Linked DNA regions of Homo sapiens: region 2 is linked to region 1. Evidence: promoter capture Hi-C in human tissues and cell types (Jung and others, 2019). All regions are on one chromosome and are shown on one strand. Each heading gives the region's core, a stretch centred on a gene start or on the middle of the fragment in contact. The rest is flanking DNA. Distances are from core to core; before and after follow the strand shown. Region 1 holds the start of CBX1 (chromobox 1). Region 2 holds the start of LOC105371813 (a long non-coding RNA gene).

What was found. The method cuts DNA at HindIII sites, captures the fragments that hold promoters and counts their contacts. A contact is called where the count stands out against the background at its distance.
Region 2: a contact is called between a fragment that was not itself captured here and the fragment with the promoter of CBX1 in region 1, in 2 of the 25 tissues and cell types used here (IMR-90 fibroblasts and lymphoblastoid cells).

What each region holds. Positions count from the first base shown.
Region 1 is chr17:48,098,499-48,103,724 of GRCh38, reverse strand. It overlaps CBX1 (chromobox 1), which reads left to right and starts at 2,247. Exons shown (of 5, transcript NM_001127228.2): 1 at 2,247-2,457. RefSeq lists enhancers at 1,829-2,088, 1,915-2,514 and a silencer at 2,459-2,508. The HindIII fragment of the contact is 10,755 bases long and covers 1-5,226 here.
Region 2 is chr17:48,810,831-48,816,509 of GRCh38, reverse strand. All of the region lies in intron 1 of TTLL6 (tubulin tyrosine ligase like 6), which reads left to right. It overlaps LOC105371813 (a long non-coding RNA gene), which reads right to left and starts at 4,270. Exons shown (of 4, transcript XR_001752926.1): 1 at 4,151-4,270; 2 at 3,423-3,450; 3 at 518-671; 4 at 1-81. The HindIII fragment of the contact is 4,960 bases long and covers 1,826-5,679 here.

The DNA of each region.
Region 1 (5,226 bases), core at 998-3,497:
ATAGTAGCTAATTATCATTACAACTAATTTTCTCATCATCATCAGTCAAAAACAGTACACTACAGGAGGAAGTGAGGAGATGCTTGCTTCTCACTTGCTTCTTCCTAGAAACCCAGCCCAAATGTTTCAGGAAGAATTGCTCTCTTTGTGTCCGGAGTTGATTCCTTCCGGTGGGTTTGTGGTCTCCCTGACTTAAACAATGAAGCCGCGGACCTTCATGGTGTTAAAAACAGCTCTTAAAGCTGGCAGGGACCCAAAGAGTGAGCAGCAGCAAGATTTGTTGTGAAGAGCGAAAGAACGCGAAAGAACAAGGCTTCCATAGCGTGGAAACCGACCTGAGCAGGTTGCTGCTGCGGGCTAACAGGAATGGGTGGGGGGCAGGGGGCCAGCTTTTACACCCTTGTTTGTCCCTGCCCATTTGCTATTTCTGTCCTATCAGAGTGCCCTTTTTTCAATCCTCCCTGTGATTGGCTACTTTTAGATTCCTGCATTTTACAGAGCGCTGATTGGTGCATTTTGCAGAGTGCTGATTGGTGCATTTTACAATCCTCTTGCTAGCTACAGAGGGCTGATTGGTGTGTTTTTACAGAGTGCTGATTGGTATATTTTACAATCCCCTTGCTAGGTATAGAGCGCTGATTGGTGCATTTCACAATCCTCTTGTAAGACAGAAAAGTTCTCCAAGTCCCCACTCGACCCAGGAAGTCCAGCTGGCTTCACCTCTCATCTTCTCTGTGCTTTCTTGAAGCCCTTTTAACTAAACTCTATTATGATATTGCTGGGCTGGGTTTTTCTTACATGACAGTTCTCCAGAGCCGTGAACAGTGCCTGCATCAGCAAAACTGTCTTATAAATGCAAACTCCTGCCCTGAACAGTGCCTGCATCAGCAAAACTGTCTTATAAATGCAAACTCTTGCCTTTTGGGGTAGAGTGCAATAGAGTTTCCCTCTTCCTCCTGATTAGAAGGATACTTTAAAATAAAAAAATAAAACTTTAGTTATATTGTGGCTTAAAAACATGTTTTTTTCCTAATTGTGTGTTTCCTTGGGATGATTGGGTGAAAGGTGCTGACGGAGATTAATGACACTGAAAAAGGTGAGCACAACTTACAATGAAAAAGAGGACATTTTTGTGGCGCAGCCAGTGAAAAGGGGGAAATTCAGGAAGCTATGAGAGGCCTATGGGGGGACCTAACCTACTCTAGGGAATCAGGGAAGACCTCAAAGGGGAAGTAATCTTAACACTGAACAGTATTTTTTTTTTTAGACGAAGTTTCGCTCTTGTTGCCCAGGCTGGAGTGCAATGGCGCGATCTCGGCTCACTGTAACCTCCACCTCCTGGGTTCAAGCGATTCTCCTCCCTCAGCCTCCCGAGTAGCTGGCACTACAGGCGCCCGCCACGACGCCCAGCTAATTTTTGTATTTTAGTAGAGATGGGGTTTCACCATGTTGGCCAGGCTGGTCTTGAAACCCTGACCTCAAGTGATCCACCCACCTCCGCCTCCCCAAGTGTTGGGATTATAGGCTTGAGCCACCGTGCCGGCGTGAGTAGGAATTTTACAGAGATTTGAGGAGGCAGAGATTGAGGACTAAGAAATCATTGGAAATTTGAGGCAGCGGCGATATGATAAAGTTCTGGTGAAGAATCTAAGATTCAAAAATTTTGAGGATGTGAATTACAGAACTGTCCAGAAGTGGTTGATTTTTTGGGGGCCAAGCATCAGGGGGCTCGCTTATAAAAATCATATGTTCTAATTTTTTTTTTTTTTTTTTTTTGAGATGGAGTCTCGCTCCATCGCCCAGGCTGGATCGCAGTGGCTGGATCTCGGCTCACTGCAAGCTCCGCCTCCCAAGTTCAAGCAATTCTTGTCTCAGCCTCCTGAGTAGCTGGGACTACAGGCACCTGCCACCACGCTCGGCTAATTTTTGCATTTTTAGTAGAGACAGGGTTTCACCTTGTTGGTAAGACTGGTCTCGAACCCCTGACCTCAGGTGATCCACCCGCCTCGGCCTCCCAAAGTGCTGGGATGACAGGCGTGAGCGACTGCCCCTGGCCCATATGTTCTAATATTCTAGGTTACAACGCTCTACGCTGCAATCTCTCCACCGTTACAGTTTAAAAACTATAAGTCCCTACCACCCTCGCCTACTGTGCGTGCGCGGCGCGCGGCGCTTCGGGCCTTGTAGTCTTGGACAGACCCCCGAGGCCCATGGTGCCGTGCGGCGGGTCGTTGCGCCTGCGCGGTGCGAGCGGCGGGCAGCGCAGACTGCGAGGCTCTTTTGTTCGGCTGAGGGGAGGGCCGTTGGCCGGGGCCTGCGGTACGCCGCTTCAGTGAGGGACGCCACTGCGGCCACCCGGCTTGCTGCCTTCCTGGGCGCCACTCCCCCAGGCGACCCGACGCGACGCGCCAGCAGCGCAGCACCGATTCCTCTCGGGCTCTTGGGCGCTGCTCTGAGGTGAGGAGCCCGCTGGAGGCGGGAGAGCTGGGGGAGGGGGCGCGGCGGCGGCGGCGGCGGGAGCCCTGCGTGAGGGAACGCGCTTTCGAGGCGGAGGTTAGGAGCGGGGAGCGCGCCCGGGTCCAGCGTCCTGCTTCTCCGCTTCCCGCGCTGAGCTCTTCGCCTGTCGCTGAGGCGTCGGTGCCAGCTGCGTGAAGGATGGAGAGGGCGGGGCGCGAATCCTGAGCCAGAGACTGAGTGCTTGGGGGTGGGCCGAGCACTTGGGGGCCGCTCTTCGGGGCCCGGGTGGTCTGGAACAATGTTGCTTGGCTGGGCGGCTGCGGGATAGGGCGGAAGGGGACAGGCTTGAGGCTTGGATAGGCGTGAGGAGGCGCATACGACCGCACAACCCGAGGTTTGTAACTGTATTCGGAAGACGCCGGGTCCGGCTGGGACTGCCAGAGGAACCTGGCTTTGCAGGACTACGGAGGAGTAACGTCGAGTGAATTGGAAGAGGGCCCAGGGCCGCACAAGGTGTGCTGATTGGAGGAGGAGATGTGTGGAATAAATTGGGAAAGGGGACACGGAGGGGGAGGGGCAGGCGTTTGCTGGGCCTGACTCTGGAAGGGGAGGAGCTGTTAGGATAAGTAGGGCGGAGATCCCGAGAATATTTCTATAAGGTATGTAAGAAAAAAGGGGAAAGCAGGCCGCCCTTGCATCCTGATGGGTCCTTACAGTGGGGAGGCTGTAAGAATAATGTGCGAAGAAAGGATGGAATACGCTTTTTTCAGTTTTCCAGGTTTCCTACTACCTTCACTCCATGATTCCTTTGGGGAGTTAAAAAAGTCCAAGTGCAGTTCTTGCTTTGATTCAAAATTAGTTCCGTACGTTTTTGTGTGGGATCGTAACTGGTCTCACAAAGGTGATGAAATTGTAAAAATATGTAGATGAGTTAATAGTTGAGGAACGGCGTGAGGTAGTGAGAGATTGTGAGATCGTGTGAGGTGCGAGAAATTGGGAGACATAGGAAAATTATGTGAGATTGTGAGGTAATATTTGTTTCGTGGGCCCTTCTGTTTTTAGCCAGCTTTTCCTTGTTGGAAAATTTGAATAGAGTGAGCTATATTTTACCTCTTTTTTTTTTTTTTTTTGAGAAGAGTCTTCCTCTGTTGCCCAGGCTGGAGTGCAGTGGTGCGATCTTGGCTCACTGCAACCTCCACCTCCCGGATTCATGCGATTCTCTTGCCTCAGCCTCCCGACTAGCTGGGATTACAGGCACACGCCACCACGCCCGGCTAATTTTTGTATTTTTAGTAGAGACGGGGTTTCACCGTACTGGTCACGCTGGTCTCGAACTCCTGACCTCGTGATCCTCCCGCGTCGGCCTCCCAAAGTGCTGGGATTATAGGCGTGAGCCACTGCGCCTGGCCATATTTTACCTCTTTTTCAAAGTTTCAAATGAGGGTTTTTCATAAATTGGTGTTACATTTAGACGTGTTGGTTTAACGCAATTGAGGTGGAATTTACAAAAAGTTCAGCTATAATCAGTTATATACTAGAACCCCTAGCCCAGGGTAAAGTAGCCTCCTCAATTGTGTTAAGAGTCACATCAGCAGTTTGGAAAGATTGTGAAAGGTCCAAGGCTTTGGAATAGATTCAGGAATACAATGGGGAAATTAATGCCGGTGTTCCTCCCTAGGTGCCTTATAGACTTTTATATGAAAGTGGTGTGATTGAAAAGCACTTGTATTGAAACCGGTGGCACCTTAATGAAGCTTCACGGGAGTGGAGGACCTGAAGTCGTTTACGGTTTTCCCTGTGGTGATATTTTTCTTCAATGGCTGCTGTATCCTAAATTGTTTCTCATTAAAAAAATAAATAGTAGGGTCGGGCGCAGTGGCTCAAGCCTGTCATCCCAGCACTTTGGGAGTCTGAGGTGGGCGGATCATGAGGTCAAGAGATCGAGACCATCCTGGCCAACCAACATGGTGAAACCCTGTCTCTACTAAAAATACAAAATTAGCTGGGCCTAGTGGCGCATGCCTGTAGTCCCAGCTACTCGGGAGGCTGAGGCAGGAGAATCGCTTGAACCCGGGAGGCAGAGGTTGCAGTGAGCCGAGATCTGCACCACTGCACTCCAGCCCGGGCAACAGAGCGAGACTCTGTCTCAAAAAAAAGAAAAGATAGATGATAGGTAGATAGATGGTGTGTGAAATAAATAGTTTTGAATGTAAATAGAAGCCTAGTGGTAAGTAAGTTACCCTGGTCTTCTGCATTTCTGAATACAGGATACCTATAACTTACAAACTATACCTCTAAAGAAAGATAGCACTCATTCTTGTGCCCATTTTAAGGACTAGGAAAATGTTTCTCTTTGTTGTTCACACCATTTGAAAATAATTCATTAAATTTTGGCATCCTCTAGTGGTTTATCTAGCAAAACCTCCCTTTTTTAAAAAAAAATCCTATCTGCAGTGGTGTAAGAGATTTTGCATTAGATTTGGTAGATTTTCACTTCATAGGTTCTTTCCACGAAGAGTTTCTGGTGTAGAAGGCTAATTGCTAGTTTATGGGCTCCCATAAAATGGAGCCATACTGGCCCCATCTCTACTAAAAATACAAAATTAGCTGGGCGTGGTGGTGCACACCTGTAATCCCAGCTACTTGGGAGGCTGAGGCAGGAGAATCGTTTGAACCCGGGAGGCAGAGGTTGCCATGAGCCGAGATCGCGCTATTGCACTCCAGCCTGGGCAACAAGAGCGAAACTCTGTCTCAAAAAAAGAAAAATGA
Region 2 (5,679 bases), core at 3,056-5,555, 710 kb before region 1:
CATTTCCAGTTGTTATTTCTCACCCCTCCTGAAAAAATACTCTTCTGGCTTTGCAGAAAGTTCTCCTTTGGGATTTGAACTCTAGGAAAAATATCACATTGGGGGATGAAGTGGGAAGGGAGCTAACGTTTTGAAAGCACCAGTATGTGCGAGGCACTCCAAAAAAATTTAATATTTATGCCAATCTTATTATTATATTTTCTTTTTTGTTTGTTTTAAGAGATGGAGGTGGGGGTGGGGGGGCTCACTTTTTTGCCCAGGCTGGTCTCGAACTCCTGAGCTCAAGTGATCCTCCCACTTGGGCTTCCCAAAGTGCTGGAATTACAGGCATGAGTCACCACGCCTGGTTTATATTTTCATTTTACAATATAGCCTTTATTTTGAACCAAGCACTGCTTTAAGGGTATTAGAAATATTAACTCATTTAATCTTTAAAACAGCTCCATAAAATGAATATTATTATCATCCCCATTTTACTTATACAGAAGCTGAGGTACAGAGAGGCTAAGTTACTCACCCATGGTCACACATTCTAGAAACTAGTAGAGCTGGGATTTGGATCCAGATCCATCTGTCTTTGTTAGCAATGCCCTGAATATTGTGGAGAAAATGACTAGGCATGAGCCTGATCTGAATATTGCATCTTCCAATCTTGCAGAATTTCTCAGTTTCTAGAAGAATAAAAGATGGCATCTAAGTCAGCAAGATTCTTATTGTTCCCACTACAGGTGACTTGTCATTCTCAACACTTCTTATTGGCAAAGCCCTTGAGCAATTGGGTGCCCCATCCCTCCCTTGTTAGTTCACATTTTGCTTAGGACCCTTTCAGGCCCCGGGCTGAAATTCAAAGTGTGACTAAAACGAAAAGTCAAAAGACCACAAAAAACATCTTATTTTATCCTGTCTGAATCAAAGCTCAAAGCACTTTTCTAGATGTGAAGCTTTTATCCTCCTAGTGGTCCTGTAATTATAGAGAAGATAGGGAGTGGGAGAGGAAATAATTGCTTGGATTTTTATGACATACTGAGTTGGAGGGGCAAAGCTGAAAGCAAGATCCAGAGGTCTTACCTCCACATCTTTTCTTCCCCCATCCAATTTGACATTTTCCAAGAACCACTGGAGGCCTTCAGAGGGATGCTTCCAGTAGGGAAATGAGGACCAAAAGATGAAAAGGAGGTACGTGAAGGAAAACCTATTATCTGGTGAAAGAGAGGGACTTCACAGACAGACACAATAGGCGAAACTTTCAGTGCTCTATATATTCCTATAGACTAGAAAAAAAGTCCAGGTGATGAAGGTCAGAGATGAAAAAACTTGGCTACAACTTGAAATATGTTCTCCCAGGGTTCTCTTAGTCAACCACCAAATTATTGTTTTCTATCATTTATAGGATGCCCGTGTTCATTCAGTTTTGCAAAAGAAATCACTAAACTGCTGGGCGCGGTGGCTCATGCTTGTAATCCCAGCACTTTGGGAGGCTGAGGTGGGCTGATAACCTGAGGTTGGGAGTTTGAGACCAGCCTGACCAACATGGAGAAACCCCATCTCTACTAAAAATACAAAATTAGCCAGGCGTGGTGGTGCATGCCTGTAGTCCCAGCTCCCGGGAAGCTAAGGCGGGAGAATCACTTGAATCCAGGAGGCAGAGGTTGCGGTGAGCTGAGATCGTGCCATTGCACTCCAGCCTGGGCAACAGGCTGGAGTTTGAAAGAAAGAAAGAAAGATAAAAGAAAGCACTAAACATTTTCCACCCTCTGCAACACCTCCAGGGAAGAGGAGAGTAGTCAACAGGTATAGTCCTTCAGAAGTGGAAATAAGACAGGGACCCTCCTCTGAGTTTTTTCCAAATAACCCGCAATGGACCCGTCCCAGTGGACCCGTCCCAGTGCTCATTCCCTCCCCCTGGTGGCCAATGTAGGACATTTTCGTGCTGTCTAACCAGGATCTTGTTGACAGCCTCTGGCTTGGAAGATCTCAAGATCAAACCCTATACTAAAATGGAAGGAAACATGAGAATTTTTTCAGTGTCTTAACTATATCCTACTTGGAAAGGTGGACTAATACCCTTCCTTAATGACACAATGCTCTTTCTTGTGTCATTAAGAAAAACTGAAGATGCTATTTTGCTATTTACTGTGTTTGTTACATTGGTAGTACAGCTCTTAGTCTTTTTTTTTTTTTTTTTTTTTTTGAGACACTGTCTCCCTCTGTCACCCAGACTGGAGGGCAGTGGTGCGATCTGGGCTCACTGCAACGTCCGCCTCCCAGGTTCAAGCGATTCTCCTGCCCCAGCCTACCGAGTAGCTGGGATTACAGGCGCCTGCCACCATGCCCAGCTAATTTTTGTATTTTTAGTAGAGACGGGGTTTCACCATGTTTGCCAACTTGGTCTCCAACTCCTGACCTCAAGTAACCCACCTGCCTTGGCCTCCCAAAGTGCTGGAATTACAGGCGTGAGCCACCGCACCCAGCCTTAGTCTTTTAAAAACTCTCTAAAGCACTTAGTCCACTTTGTCTGTCCACTAACCCAGCATAATGGGAAGATAACTTGGGGACCAGGAAGCTGGGGTTTTGATGGTGCTTCTGATTTCTTGCTCTCTGGCTGGGTACAAGTCCCCTCCCCTAGCACAGACTGGCAGAGGGCAGAGAGTTCAAAACCTCCTCTAAAAAGATTCCTCCCAGCTCTAACATTCAGGAATTCCATAGAAGCTTAGAAAATATTCTAATTACACCCTTAATAGGAGCCCTGGTACAATGTGGACATTGGAGAAAAGAAGGGAAAGAGAGTGAAAATAAATACAAGTAGAAACAATACAGCTGTTACCAGGTTATGGCAAATCTGGAGAGATCCAAGCCCTTGTTGGAGATGGGAATTTAAAGCAGTTGACTTTAAGGAAAATGATGTGGGACCAACTGATTATTTTTCTCTTTTTCTTTTTCTTTTTGTTTTTGAGGCAAGGTCTAGTTCTGTCTCCCAGGCTGGAGTGCAGTTGTGTGATCTCTACTCGCTGCAACCTCAGCCTCCCGGGCTAAAGTGATCCTCCCACCTCAGCCTCCTGAGTAGCTGGGACTACAGGCACACGCCACCACACCTGGCTTATTTATTTATTTATTTATTGGTAGAGTGGGGTTTCACCATGTTGTCCAGGCTGGTGTCAAACCCCTGGCTCAAGTGCTCTGCCCACCTTGGCCTCCGAAAGTGCTGAGATTACAGGCATGAGCCATCGTGCCTGTCCCCAACTGACTCTTAAGAGACTAAAGTCACTAAGATTGCTTTTGGGAGTTAGGAGATCAGTTACTTTAGTTTATGGTCACACTATTTATGGATGGCCTGCCGAGAGGAAAAGGCAGTGAGGGGAGCATGGAGAGACAGGCTGTGGGGTCAGATGGACATGTCTTCCAACCCCAGCTGTGCCTCTTACCTTAGTCTCTCTGTCTCAGTCTTCTCATCTGTAATAGAGGAAAGAGTATCCATGATAGGTTATTATGAGGATGAGACATTATGTTTATAAATGCTTTAGTGTAATGTCTGCTACTTGGTAAGTGGGTTTTCAATAGTCTATTGTAAGTGAATGAAACAAGCATTTTAAGTGCCAGCTATATGAGAAGGACCCAAGGTTGATGTTTTAACAATGTAAATAACAAATGTTACTTACCTAATGCTCACAACAACACTTCTGTTATATAGCTAAGGAAAATGAACCTTGGAGAAGCTTAATTAGTTCATGCATTTATTCATTCTTCCAGCCCATTAATTCAAGGAGCATATGAACATCTCATTTTTAGTATCTTTTCTAGACACTGCTAGGAGCTGAGAATGCAGAGACACAGCCTCTTCCATCAGGAAGTTCACAGTCCAGGGTTACACAGCTGGTAATGGTAGAGAGCACTTTGTGGGTACCTTCTATGTGCCAGGCACTGTTCTAAGAACTTTGTGTTGCATTAAGTCAAATGAGTAAACTCATTTAATCTCCATAACTGGGAGAAGCCACTTTACAGATGAGGAAACTAAGGCAGGAGGTTAAATAAACTGCCTGAGTTCAGACAACTAGGAAGTGGCAGAGCTGGGATTTAAATCCAGACAGAGACTTCGAAATCTGAGTTCTTAGCTACTACACTGCAGCTGCCTCTTAATAAGTGGCTTAGTCACCTGTAGCTGACGGCAGAGGCCCTTACACCATGATGTATGTATATTTCAGGATGCCACCAGCAGCTCCCCTCACTCCTTTGTATTCTCCTTAGGCCATGTCTTTTGCCTTTCCTCCTTTTATTCCTCAAGGCTACAAGACTGCTTTTGGTGTTGGCACCAACAAAATTGTTACGCAAGACAATAGGTGGGAACTACCAGGTGAGCAGGGAGTGGTTGCTAAGACTGTTAAGAGAAGTCTTGTAGAACCAAATAAAGTCCACATCTGAAAAGTCTGAGCGGGGGGTGGGGGGGGGGGTCCCAGCATCACCTGGGTCAGATTTAATTCTTATTCTGAAAACCAGGGAATTAAAATGCTTTCTGGCTGGGCGTGGTGGCTCACGCCTGTAATCCCAACACTTTGGGAGGCCGAGGTGGGCGGATCACCTGAGTTCAGGAATTTGAAACCAGCCTGGCCAACATGGCAAAACCCCGTCTCTACTAAAAATGCAAAAATAATTAGGCCGGCATGGTGACAGGTGCCTGTAATCCCAGCTATTTGGGAGGCTGAGGCAGAAGAATAGCTGGAACCTGGGAGGTGGAGGTTGCAGTGAGCTGGGATCGTGCCATTGCACTCCAGCCTGGGTGACAGAGCAAGACTCTGTCTCAAAAAAAAAAAAAAAAAAAAGCTTTCTGCTCAGCCCTGGTGGAAGTAGCTTTTGTTTTCACTTGAAACTGCTTGGAGGCCAGAGATACTAGAGCAGAACTGGTATAAATTCAGATGTCTATAGGGTCAGGCATATAGTTTAAATGAAAGAAGTGGGCTGCGTTTAAGAAAATGTCACCTCTCTTGAGCTGGGCACAGCGGCTCATGGTTGTAATCCCAGCTACTTCCAAGGTTGAGGCAGGAGGATCTCCTGAGGCCAGGCATTTGAGACCAGCCTGGGCAACATAGCAAGACCATGTCTCTAAAAAAGAGATGTCTCAATGCTACTATAAGAAAAATAGGCTGGGCATGGTGGCTCACACTTGCTTTGAGTAATCCCAGCACTTTGAGTGGCCAAGGTGGGTGGATCACCTGAGGTCAGGAGTTTGAGACCAGCCTGACCAATATGATAAAACTCCGTTCTCTACTAAAAATACAAAACTTAGCCAGGCATGGTGACAGGCACCTGTAATCCCAGCTACTCGGGAGGCTGAGGCAACAGAATCGCTTGAACCCAGGAAGCAGAGGTTGCAGTGAGCCGAAATCATGCCACTGCACTCTAGCCTGTGTGACGAGTGAGACTCTGTCTCAAAAAAAAAAAAAAAAAAAGAAAAATAATAATATAAGGATAACTGTCACTTGGCTCCTGTGTCAGGGAAACAAAAAGGAGTGTTGGGCATTGGGGCAGACTGGGAAATGTCTACAGGAGGCATTACTGAGCTCTGGTTGATTGCTGGCATGAAGGAATAGAGACCTCTCCAAAAGAAATGGAAATCTGCATTTTCTAGTTGTTGGCAACTACATATATATACACACACATACTATATATATATATATATATATATAT